Regions from separate parts of the Homo sapiens genome. Here regions 2 and 3 are each linked to region 1. Evidence: promoter capture Hi-C in 16 types of primary human blood cells and fetal thymus (Javierre and others, 2016). All regions are on one chromosome and are shown on one strand. The core of a region is centred on a gene start or on the middle of the fragment in contact, and the rest is flanking DNA. Distances in the headings are between cores, read along the strand shown.

Evidence for each region. Contacts are between HindIII fragments. The CHiCAGO score rates a contact against its expected background, and 5 or more counts as called.
Region 2: a contact is called between a fragment that was not itself captured here and the fragment with the promoter of MAP1LC3B2 in region 1, in 7 of 17 cell types (total B cells, monocytes, fetal thymus and 4 more). The highest score is 7.8, in total B cells.
Region 3: a contact is called between a fragment that was not itself captured here and the fragment with the promoter of MAP1LC3B2 in region 1, in 3 of 17 cell types (neutrophils, monocytes and naive B cells). The highest score is 6.5, in neutrophils.

Annotation. Positions count from the first base shown.
Region 1 is chr12:116,557,595-116,561,636 of GRCh38, forward strand. It overlaps MAP1LC3B2 (microtubule associated protein 1 light chain 3 beta 2), which reads left to right and starts at 1,787. Exons shown (of 2, transcript NM_001085481.3): 1 at 1,787-1,839. RefSeq lists enhancers at 1,282-1,791, 1,631-1,970, 2,191-2,240, 2,281-2,380, 3,870-4,042 and a silencer at 3,870-4,042. The HindIII fragment of the contact is 18,876 bases long and covers 1-4,042 here.
Region 2 is chr12:116,354,440-116,358,481 of GRCh38, forward strand. No RefSeq gene overlaps it. Among named protein-coding and RNA genes, the nearest start is that of MIR4472-2, 72 kb to the right of the region's middle. The HindIII fragment of the contact is 6,012 bases long and covers 1-4,042 here.
Region 3 is chr12:116,384,596-116,388,637 of GRCh38, forward strand. No RefSeq gene overlaps it. Among named protein-coding and RNA genes, the nearest start is that of MIR4472-2, 42 kb to the right of the region's middle. The HindIII fragment of the contact is 6,952 bases long and covers 1-4,042 here.

The DNA of each region.
Region 1 (4,042 bases), core at 537-3,036:
GAAACTTGTAAGACAGAGTCCCAGTCCATGTGAGTGGCGAGTGGGGGCATCTTGGGAGGGGCCTTCCAAAGGCAAAGCCAGGCTGGTTTGGTGGAGTCCTTTCCAGAACCCATCTGCTTGTGTAAAGCCTAGCAGAGGCCACCTTCAGCAGCCCTCCCGGATACTGGTTAAAGTGTTGTTATTGTTTGAGACAGGGTCTCACTCTGCCACCCATACTAGAGGGCAGTAGTACAATCTCGGCTCACTGCAACCTCCACCTCCCGGGTTCAAGCGATTCTCCTGCCTCAGCCTCCTGAGTAGCTGGGACTACAGGCATGTGCCACCGTGTCCCGCTAATTTTTGTATTTTTGGTAGAGATGAGGCTTCACCATGTTGGCCAGGCTGGTTTTGAACTCCTGATCTCAAGTAATCCACCCACCCTGGCCTCCCAAAGTACTGGGATTACAGGCATGAGCCACTGCACCCGGACTTAAAGTGGTTTTTAAAAAGTGCCGTGTGAGACTTCCAAATAGTACTCACGGGGAGGGAAATGAAAGGAGAGGATTGGGGAAGAAACACCTTCTATTTTTTTTTTTTTTTTTTTTTTTTAGAGACAGGGTCTTGCTCTGTCACCCAGGCTGCAGCCTGGACCTCTTGGGCTCAAGGGATCCTCCCACCTTAGCCTCCTGTGTAGCTGGGACCACAGGCGTGCACCGCCACACCCAGCTAATTTTTTTTATTTTTTTGCAGAGATGGGGTCTCTCTATGTTGCCCAGGCTGGCCTCAAACTCCTGGGCTCAAGTGATCCTCCCTTCTCGGCCTCCCAAAGTACTGGGATTACAGGGGTGAGCCACCTCACCTGTACAGCTTCTTTGGAGAATGGGCCTGGGCAGGTCAAACAGGGGCCACTCTACACCATCATGGCACAGCAAGAGCTGGGCTATGTAGGTTCAGTATTCTTTGTCATTTAATCCTTGTGACGACCTCGTGTCATCATTGCTGTTTTACAGATAAGGAACTGAGGCTCAGAGAGGTTCAGTGTCACAGCTAGCATTTCACTTACATATCACAGAGCAAAGGCTCTCTTTGTCCAGAGACAACGTGCCTTTAGGTGATAGAGCTAGGACTGGAACCCAAGTCTATCTGACTCAAAGTCCACACAGCTTGTCCCCCATCCCGCAGGGACCTCTCCACGCTAGTGAGCCCCACGAAACCCCCTCAGTGCTTCGTTCCAGTCTTTTACCTTCAAGCCCAGTCAGCGAGTTCTTTATTTCCACAAATGGTGCTATTAAACTAATGGCTTCGGGAGCTATAGGCTGGCCTCGGCACAGTTACACATCTCTCCACCCACCATGTTCTGGCTTCCAAATAAATACATTGGAAATTCCAGGAGCCGAAGCCCATTTGGAAACGTTTCCGGGCCACCATTTTGCTTTGGGATGGGCAAGAAGAGACACCCTAAACTTGAACTCCTGTCTGTGCAGCCTCCAGCCGGCCAGGCGCTAAATAAGGCCACGGCCCGTTTCCTCCTTCAAAAGTCCCTTGTAAAGGGCGATAGCAGACCCCATCAGGCAAAAAGCTGAGAAGCCAGGGTTGAAATAGAGGCCTCTTTCTGTTTGGTCAATCAGCAGCTGCAAAGGATGCGTAGGATGGAGCTAAATTTATTTGTTCCTTTCTTTCTCAGCAACAGCGACGAGGCCCGAGGTGCAGCTGTCTCGCCTCGCCTGTCTTTTGCAGGCACCGGCATGCACAGAAGATGGCTCTCCGGGAGGAAGATTCCTTTCCATTTTGTTCTCTCTCTGCCTCCGCAAGGCTCGCAGCCACCTCTCGGGAGTGCAGGGCCAGATCCTGTGCCAGCGGGTAGGAATATGTAGCTGCCTCCCAGCCCCAGGGTGGAAATCATGACCTTTGAGAAGCAGGCAAGCTGCACGGCATAGATACTCAGGCCTGGTGAAGGCAAAGTGGGGCCACACCCTAGAAAAACCACAAAAGTCCCCACAGCCTCTGCTTTCACTAGTCAGACCTGTGGGAAACTTGTAAGACACAGTCCATGTGATCGGCGGGTGGGGGCATGTTGGGAGGGGCCTTCCGAAGGCCACAGCCAGGCTGGCAGGGCAGAGTCCTTTCCAGAATTTATCTGTTTGCTTAAAGCCCAGCGGAGGGGCCACCTTCAGTCAACCCTCCAGCATACTGGTCCAAGTAGTTTTTTCAAAGTGCTTTGTGAGACTTTCAAAAGGTACCCATGGGGAGGGAAGTGAGAGGAGGAGGAGGGGACGGTGAAGAAACAGCTTCTTTATTTCTAGCCTTGCTTGAATGGCTTCTTGACGGTTACTGCTCCAGTTTTGCTGAGTCAGAAGAATCCCACAGCCGCTCACCGGAAACACAGCTGTTGGGCAAAAATAACCACAGAGCTGAGCATCATGCACCTTCCAGAAAAGATGGCAGAAAACCTCAAAACAAAAGAGAAATACAAAACAATAGGAGACACTGTCAAGAAAAAAAAAACAAAAACAAAAACCACCGCAGCTCACTAACCGATCCAAGCTGGTGGCGCTCTCCTGATCTCTCTCCACTCCCAGGCCCAGCAACGGCTCTGAAATAAAGCTAAGTTTGGCTATATATATATATATATATATATATATATATATATATATATATATATATATATGTATGTATATGTATATATATATATTTAGATAGAGTCTTCCTCTGTCGCCCAGGCTGGAATGCAGTGGCGCGCTCTCGGCTCGCTGCAACCTCTGCCTCCTGGGTTCAAGTGATTCTCCTGCCTCAGCCTTCCGACTAGCTGGGATTACAGGTGCGCCACCACGCCCAGCTAATTTTTGTATTTTTAGTAGAGACGAGGTTTCGCCATGTTGGCCAGGCTGGTCTCGAACTCCTGACCTCAAGTGATCCGCCCACCTCGGCCTCCCAAAGTCTTGGGATTACAGGTGTGAACCATCACATCTGGCCTACTTTTACACTGTAGTGGGTTTAATAGTGTCTCCCCAGTCACACCTCCACCAAAAAAAGAAAAGATATGTCCACAGTCTAATGTGCTGCAGCACCTGTGAATGTGACCTTAATGGAGAAAGGATCTTTGCAGGTGTAAATTAATTTTAGGATCTCAAGATTGAATCATCCTAGACTACCTGGGTGGACCTCAAATCCAATGACAGGTATCCTTATAAAAGGAAGGCAGATCCAGCTTGGGCAACATAGGGAGACCCTGTTTCTACAAATAGTTTAAAAAAAAAAAAAGGCTGGGCATAGTGGCTTACACCTCTAATCCCAGCACCTTGGGAGTCCAAGGTGGGCAGGTCACTTGAGGCCAGGAGTTCAAGACCAGCTTGCCCAATATGGCTTAACCCCATCTCTACTAAAACTACAAAAATTAGCTGGGCATGGTAGTGTATGCCTGTAGTCCCCGCTACTTGGGAGGCTGAGACACAAGAATCACTTGAATCCGGGAAGCAGAGGTTGCAGTGAGCTGAGATTGTGCCACTGTACTCCAGCTTGGGCAACAGAGCACGACTCCATCTCAGAAAAAAAGCTGTGGGGGACAGTGGTGTGTGCCTGTGGTCCCAGCTACTTGTGAGGCTGAGACAGGAGGATCTCTTGAGCCCAGAAGTTCGAGGCTGCAGTGAGCTATGATGGCACCACTGTACTCCAGCCTGGGTGACCAAGTGAGACCCTGTCTCAAAATAAAAAAAAAAAAGTGTGGCAGAGGTAGATGGGTAGATTAGACACACAGAGAGGAAGTCCCAGAGGAACTTGGAAGTGAGGATTGGAGTTTTGCAGCTACAAACCAAGGATATTAGGGCACTCATAAGAAACTAACAGAGCCACCCCAGGCTTCTGTTTACCAGGTCCTCCCCTGGCCATCTCCTTCCCCTTGTCTGGGCTGAAAACATTCACAGCATCTTGTTTGCGTGGACACCGAGTTTCCCTTTCCCCAGACTTCATAACGATCAGGAAGCAGGATGGGGCCTTGAGGACTCCCGAGACTAAGGGAGGAGTCGAGGGTCCCTGGTTGTAGATAAGTCTTGGCCACAGGCCAGGA
Region 2 (4,042 bases), core at 585-3,084, 200 kb before region 1:
CCGGACTGATTTATGATTCCACACCATTGGCTGTGATCTCATGGTTCCCTCCTGGACAATGGGTCACACCTCACTTCCTAACCCACAATCCTGTCACTGGGCTCTGCCTTTGCTCCTCGATGACGGTTCACGGCAATTTCTTTGAGTACATCACCCATAGCTGCTTTTGATTAACATTGGCCAAATCCAGGACCCTATATCCATGGCATCTTGTAGCCTTCTCTCTCCTGGGTCTATCTGACTTCAGGAAATAGAGCAGGATGTTCATACCGATGAATCAGCTTGGAACCTTAACACCAGGTTCCCCTGATCTCTCTTGGCAACTGTCATTCATCAAACATTGATTAAATACTAACTGCATGTCCAGCACTGTGCTGGGCACTAGAGATTAAATGGTGACCTGAACGTAAGCAGTCATTACACTGAACCCCACTGGAGAGACACACATGTAAACAGCAAGTGCAATGTAGCAAGTTAAAGCCAGAACAGAAGTACCTGAGCTCTATGAACCAGCACAGCACCTCCCAGCAAGGCAAAGTCAGAAACAGAATAAGGAAGATGAAATCGACGTCAGATGCCAAATGGTTTCCGACTAGAAGGCCTAGGGGATTGTTGTCCCTGAGTTTCCTCTCGGGAAACCAGACCTACTTCCTCCTCTGACTAGGGGGTCAGGGGTTGGCAGGGGTTTGTGGGGGAAGAGGCACTGATAGCCCAGGTCTTCCCCTGTCTTTACCAATCATAAGTGCCACACGAGCTGAGCTGATAATCAACTATGGACGGCCAGCCAGGCACTCTCCGCAGCTACCTCGGCACAGAGGAAGACCTTATCAAACCTCACCACTTGAAAGGAGAAGGATTGCTCCAAAGTGAATGCCCTGTTCCTACCGCACAGGAGAGTTGGAGGAATTACTGAACACACCATGACTGCAAAGTCTCACCCAAGATAATGTGGAAAGGACTTTCGAAGAACTCCCTGATTCTAAGAAAAAATTAGAAGGAAGCCGTCATCTCCATGGGATAAGGTGAAAAATCAAGACGCAGATAGCAAAGAGGTCCTGGAGCAAGGCAGCATCAGAGTCGAGAGGAAAGCAGATGACACGAATTAACATGAAGGTTCGTTCCCTTCTCCTCCCCCATCACTGCTCACAGCCCACACTCAGGGTATGATACCCAGAAAAATGACCTCACCCTTTTGGACTGTGGGAGAAGAGAAAATCTGAAAGACTTTGTCATTCTGTCCAAATGATAGAATTTATTTGTTCAAAGATATTACATATACTTTACAAACATTTTTTTAAAGAATTTATTTTGGCCAGGTGTGATGGCTCATGCCTGCAATTCCAGCACTTTGGGAGGCTGAGGCGGGCGGATCACCTGAGGTCAGGAGTTCAAGACCAGCCTGGCCAACATGGTGAAACCCCGTCTCTAATAAAAATACAAAATTCGCCGGTTGTGGTGGTGGGATCTGTAATCTCAGCTACTTGGGAGACTGAGGCAGGAGAATTTCTTGAACCCGGGAGGCGGAGGTTGCAGTGAGCCAAGATGGTACCATTGCACTCCAGCCTGGGTAACAGAGCGAGACTCCATCTCAAAAAAAAAAAAAAAAAAAAAAGAATGTATTTGGAAAGAATTATTTAATTACTATGAATTAATTATCCAAGTAATTAATTATTTAATTACTTGGACAAAAGTATAATAGCAAAGGAAGTAGTGTCAGGAGTGGTGGAGGGGTCATTTTAATGAATAGATGAGGCTTACTGGAGAAGAGAACATAATCATTTTATGAAAATGATGCCGAACGTCCTCAAGAAAGTGCTTTTCCTTCCTCTTCCTGTCTGATTGGGCTCCCCTGTACCATATACTCGCTTTCTGGAGGTGGCATTCCCTCAGAACACAAGCTGGACAAGGCACAAGGCAAGAGACAGGCTTATCCATCAAGGAAGGTCCAAGGCTGGTCACAGTGGCTCACGCCTGTAATCCTAGCACCTTGGGAGGCCAAGAGGGCCGATCACTTGAGCTAAGGATTTTGAGACCAGCCTGGCAACAGGGCGAGACCCCGCCTCTACAAAAAATACAAAAATTAGCCAGACGTGGTGTCACATGCCTGTAGTTCCAACTATTCGGGAGGCTGAGGTGGGAGGATTGATTGAGCCCAGCGGGTGGAGGCTGCAGTGAGTTGTGATTGTGCCACTGCACTTCAGCCTGGGCCATAGAGTGAGACTCTGTCTCCAAATAAATAAATGAAAGAAGGTCCAAAAATATGATCTTTATAATACTTGGTATGTTGTTTATTTCTTTGTCAAAATCTTTTGTGTTAGCCATGGTTCTCCTAGAAGCAGAGACTAAAAATAAATTTAAAGCAGAAAGGATTTATTAGAAGAAAGGTCTGTGGGAGAAGCAGGGAGGGAGACAGAGAAAGTGAGGAGGGCCACACAATCCCAAATGAAGGGGAGAGGAAAGGAAGTTGGGTGGGGGCCTGGAACAGTGGCTCACACCTGTAATCCCAGCACTTTGGGAGGCCGAGGTGAGTGGATCACTTGAGGCCAGGAGTTCGAGACCAGCCTGGCCAACATGGAGAAACCCCCGTCTCTACTAAAAATACAAAAATCGGCCAGGTGTGGTGGCACAGGTCTGTCATCCCAGCCACTCGGGAGGCTGAGGCAGGAGAATTGCTTGAACCTTGGAGGCAGAGGTTGCAGTGAGCTGAGATCATGCCACTGCACTCCAGCCTGGGTGTCAGAGTGAGACTGTCTTATAAAAAAGAAAGAGGGAAGGGAAGGGGAGGAGAGGGGAGGGGAGGCGAGGGGAGGGAAGGGAAGGGAAAGTTGGGTAGGATCTAGTTTATGATGGGTAAAAAAAATTTTTTTTTAAAAAGAAGAAATTTGGGTGGGAGTGTCCTGGACTCCCATGCAGTCTAAGGAAGGTTTGGGAAGGCCCTTGGAGAATTCTCAAGCTCAAGTCACCATTGGAGGAGCCCTGCACCTCCCATGAACAGGCTGCCTTAGTGTCTCTGACGTGCTCAGTTGCTGGCCGAGAGCTGCAGAATTGGGATAGCAGCGCCAGCGTCTGGGGCGCTTGGTCTATTATAGGCTGTATTACTCAGGGTTCTCCAGAGAAACAGAACCAATAGGAAATGTGTAGATATAGAGAAAGAGATTTATTATGGGGGATTGGCTCACACAATTATGAAGACTGAGAAGTTCCACAATCTGCCATCTGCAAGCTGAAGACCCAGGAAAACTGGTAGTATAGTTCCAGTCCAATGAAGCCCAGAGGCCTGAGAACCAGGGAAACCAATGGCATAGGTCCCAGTCTGAATCCTAAGTCCCCCAAACCAGGAGTGCTGATGCCTGAGGGCAAGAGAAGGTGATGTTCCAGCTCAAGCAGACAGCAAATTCATGCTTCCTAAACCTTTTTCTATTTGAGCTCTCAGTGGATGACATGACGCTCACCTGGATTGGTGAAGGCAAACATTATTCAATCTACCGATTCAAATGCTAATCTCTTCTGGAAATACCCTCACGGACATACCCAGAAATAATGTTTTACCAGCCATCTGGGCATCCCTTAACCTAGTCCAGTAGACACATAAAATTAATCATCACACATGGAAGTCTGGTCACTTCACATCTCTTCACAGCGACGGCGGCTCCAGTTTCCAGTCCAAATCAGTGTACGTGCTAGGGGGCTTTCTGCACAGCTTTTGGGTGGGGTAGTCAATCGAAGAGATCAAGTTTGCATGCTGGAATATTTTAGTTGCTGAGATATTTCAATGGTTTGTGAAGACCATGGGGAAATAAACATTTAAAATTAAAAGTGGCTTGGAAAATCAAGGCAGTTTCTCAGCGGTAGTCCCCCGTTGACAGAAATATTTGGGACACTTGTTATAATTTCTTTATTTCTACCCAGACTTATTTAATCAAACCTTGGAGGTGAGAACCAGAGCTCTAATACACACCAATACCGTATTTATAGTTAGCATCAAAGTAAAGGGAAGTTTGAGGTGATTTACACCAAATCCAAACTCAGTGATATCCGAGTA
Region 3 (4,042 bases), core at 434-2,933, 170 kb before region 1:
CCCACTGTCTCAGACATCTTCCCCTAGGCTTAGAGTCCACATCAGGGAAGGGTTGCTGAGAATTCCACTGGAGTGTCTCCCAACCCCTCCCCCACCCCTCAATCTGGAGAGCCAGGTGGTTATGAGACAAAGAAGCAAAGGACCTCTGGTCACAGCTGACCAGAACATTCTTCCTGTCTGGGAGCTGCCCTGATCTTGCAGTGGGCAGTGAGCTACTACACCTGCCCTCTGGGAGGCTGAGTATTTACCTAGAGGCACTGCTGGGGCTGCCGGCCTGGGAGCAAAATTTAAGGAGGCACTTGTTCTCAGGGCCATGCATGATGTTCAGGGTCGTGACTTGCGTGAACCTGAGAATGAGCGCCTCCTTAAAAATTGCACCTGGTTTGCCTGGCCCTATTCCTGGCCCCACCCCAGGGGTAATTTATCAGAGGAACAGAGGGTATTTGGGGTCCATTGGCAGCTGGTAGGTGCAGAGTCACACAGACCTGGGCTTGAATACTGACTTCAGTCACTTAATAGCTGGGTGACCATGTATGGGTCTATTCTTTTACTTGAGCTCAGTTTTCTCATCTATAAAATGGGGATTATAGAATAAAACTGACCTCATAGGTGGTTGTGGGATTAAATGAAGAGTGTCCACATAAAGTACCCGGCACTCAGTAATGTTAGCTTATTATTATCTTTTTTTTTTTTTTGGCAGCTTAGAAAGAGGAAGTTCGTGGGTTGCAAAGTGAGTAATGGCTGCATCTGGGAGCTGATCAAAGGTGGCCAGCCAAGTTGAGTAGCCAGTTCGGTGTATGAGACTTAACAACACTGGTAATTTCTTTCTTTTCTTTTTCTTTTTCTTTTTTTTTTTTTTTTTTTTTTTGAGGCACTCTGTTGCCCAGGCTGGAGTGCGGTGGCGTGATCTTGGCTCACTGCAATGTCTGCCTCCCAGGTTCAAGCGATTCTCCTGCTTCCGCCTCCTAAGTAGCTGGAACTACAGGCACACGCCACCAGGCCCAGCTAATTTTTGTATTTTTTAGTACAGACAGAATTTCACCATGTTAGCCAGGCTGGTCTCGAACTCCTGACCTCAGGTGACCCACCCGCCTCAGCCTCCAAAGGTGCTGGGACTGCGCCTGGCCAACACTGGAAATTTCTTGTTTAAGAAAATTCCAAGCTCATACTGGGAGGGCGAGGCCAGGACATGAGGCTGCAGTGGACATCCATAGCTGCAGGGAGCCTCACTCGCTAGGCTCTTCCACATGTGTGAAGCCATCACATTCCTCTAGGCACCGCCCAGGACATCTCCTGCTGGAGGAGCGTTAGAGAGTGTCCCGGCTCCCCCTAGATCCACCTCTGACCATCTGATCTGGTTACTTCCTAACGTCCTGTTTGTTTTCCTCTAAACCAGAGAGAACGTTGAGCTGGGTCATTGGCGATAAGGGCAGGTTGGGTTGAGCAACCGAATCTGTTCCTTATCCAAGCAACAGATCTTTTCTAAAGTTCAGCTCTGGTCGGATCCACTGCCCACGAAGCGGTTCATACAGCCACCACCATCAGTTCATGATTCTCCACGCCAACAACAGCATGTGCTTCACTAGCCTCCACAAATGCTGACAGGTGAAGGCAGACTGTTCCTTGGAGCAGTTGACCTGGGTTTATTTTATTTTATTTTATTCATTTTATTTTATTTTATTTTATTGAGACAGAGCCTCAATCTGTTGCCCAGGCTGGAGTGCAGTGGCCGGATCTCAGCTCCCTGAAAACTCCGCCTCCAGGGTTCAAATGATTCTTGTGCCTCAGTCTCCTGAGTAGCTGAGATTACATGTACATGCCACCATGCCCATCTAATTTTTGTATTTTTAGTAGAGATGGGATTTCACCATGTTGGCCACGCTGGTCTTGAACTCCTGGCCTCAGGTGATCTGCCCGCCTCAGCCTCCCCAAGCGTTGGGATTACAGGCATGAACCATGGCACCCAGCCTTATTTTATTTTTTGAGATGGAGTCTCACTCTATTGCCCAGGTTGGAGCGCAGTGGCACAATCTTGGCTCACTGAAGCCTCCGCCTCCCGGGTTCAGGTGATTCTCTTTCCTCAGCCTCCCAAGTAGGTGCGGTTACAGGCATGTGCCACCACGCCTGGCTAATTTTTGTATGTTTAGTGGAGACGGGGTTTCACCATATTGGCCAGGCTGGTCTTGAACTCCTGACCTCAGGTGATTCGCTCACCTTGGCCTCCCAAGGAGCTGGGATTACAGGCATGAGCCACCACACCCGGCCCACTTGACCTGCTTTGACTTTTTAAGCCCATTGATTTGCTCTCCTGTCCCTTGTTCCCACCCTAGAGAGAGAGGCATGCATCCAATGTTCCTATTTCCGGACTTTTTTTTTTTTTTTTAAGGGCTGGGCTGCCATCTGCCCAAGTCAACACCCACCTAATTTTCCGGCGTAAACTGCAGCCCTCGTTTGCTTCCTCGAGCTTGGCCTGAACCCAGCACCTTAATCTGTACCTTGGCCAGGCTCCCAATGCAGATGCAATGTGTACGCTTCCCCATTAGCACAATTATCACATCACTAATGAGGGCTGCCACCATTTATTGAGCTGTTACTATATGCCAGGCTCTGTGCTAAAAGTTTTCCCCAGATCATCTCATTTAGAACTGGCATTAACCCGACGAGCAGATGATTATTTTATGAATGAGCACACTGAAGCAGAGAAATGGGAGTGCTTGACCAAGGTCACCCGTTTGGGGAAGCAGGGCGAGTACAGGTCAGTTCCACTGCACACTGCAGGCCCTGAACCTCCCAATCAACTATACTGTTCTTTAGTTACCTGCAAATTCATCCCCTCTACCGCTAAACCTGGCTCCCTATGTCTCCTAGGGTATTGGATTTTTGAGAACAGGAAGGCACAACTATTATTTTAAAGAAATTATATGAACTGGTGGGGCGTGGTGGCTCACTCCTGTAATCCCAGCACTTTGGGAGGCCAAGCTGGGAGGATCACGTCAGCCTAGGAGTTCAAGACCAGCCTGGGTAACATAGGGAGACCTTGTCTCTACAAAAGAATTAAAAAGATAGCCAGGCGTGGTAGCATGCACCTGTAATTCCAGCTCCTCATGAGGTGGGAGGATCACTTCAGCCTGGGAAGTTGAGGTTGCAGTGAGCCATGATCACACCACTGCACTCCAGCCTGGGTGACAGAGCAAGACCCTGTCTCAAAAAAGAGGAAAAGAAAAGAAAAGAAAAGAAATTGTATGGGCTGGGCGTGGTGACTCACGCCTGTAATCCCAGCACTTTGGGAGGCCGAGGTGGGCGGATCACTGGAGGCCAGGAGTTGGAGATCAGCCTGGCCAACATGATGAAACTCCGTCAATACAAAAAATACAAAAATTAGCTGGGTGTGGTGGTGTGTGTCTGTAATCCCAGCTACTCGGGAGGCTGAGGCAGGAGAATCGCTTGAACCTGGGAGACAGAGGTTGCAGTGAGCAAAATGGTGCCACTGCACTCCAGCCTGGACAACAGAGTGAGACTGTCTCGAAAAAAAATAAAAAATTATATAAACTTACAATTAAATAGATACATTGAATTGAAAGATAAAAGTAATAACACTAAAACTCCTCACTTCTTAATTTACTATGTTCTCCCATTACCTATGCTCTTAAGATTATGATATCTGTTTGGTGAAAATTCTCTACAGTGTCTGCTCCTGTGCCTGTCTTCCCAACTCTGTGTTCAGTGACCTCCCCTTGGGAGTTTGAGATTGACTTTGGTGGGAGTATTTACACCATAGAAATGGGCAAATGCTATATACCAGGGTTTTCCTCCAGAGAACTAGTTATTAAACATTGACCAGCACCACTGATCACAACATTTGTGGTAGGTATTATAAGCCCTTTTAACACAGAAGCGACTGAGGCTTAGGAATGCTAAGTGATTTGGCCGAGATCAATGGCTAGGCAGTGGTGGAGCCAGAATTCGATTCCAGGTCATGTCATCTCTACTGCGTGGATATACCTTCGCGATTGCTGAAGAAGGAAAAATAAAACAGAAGCTC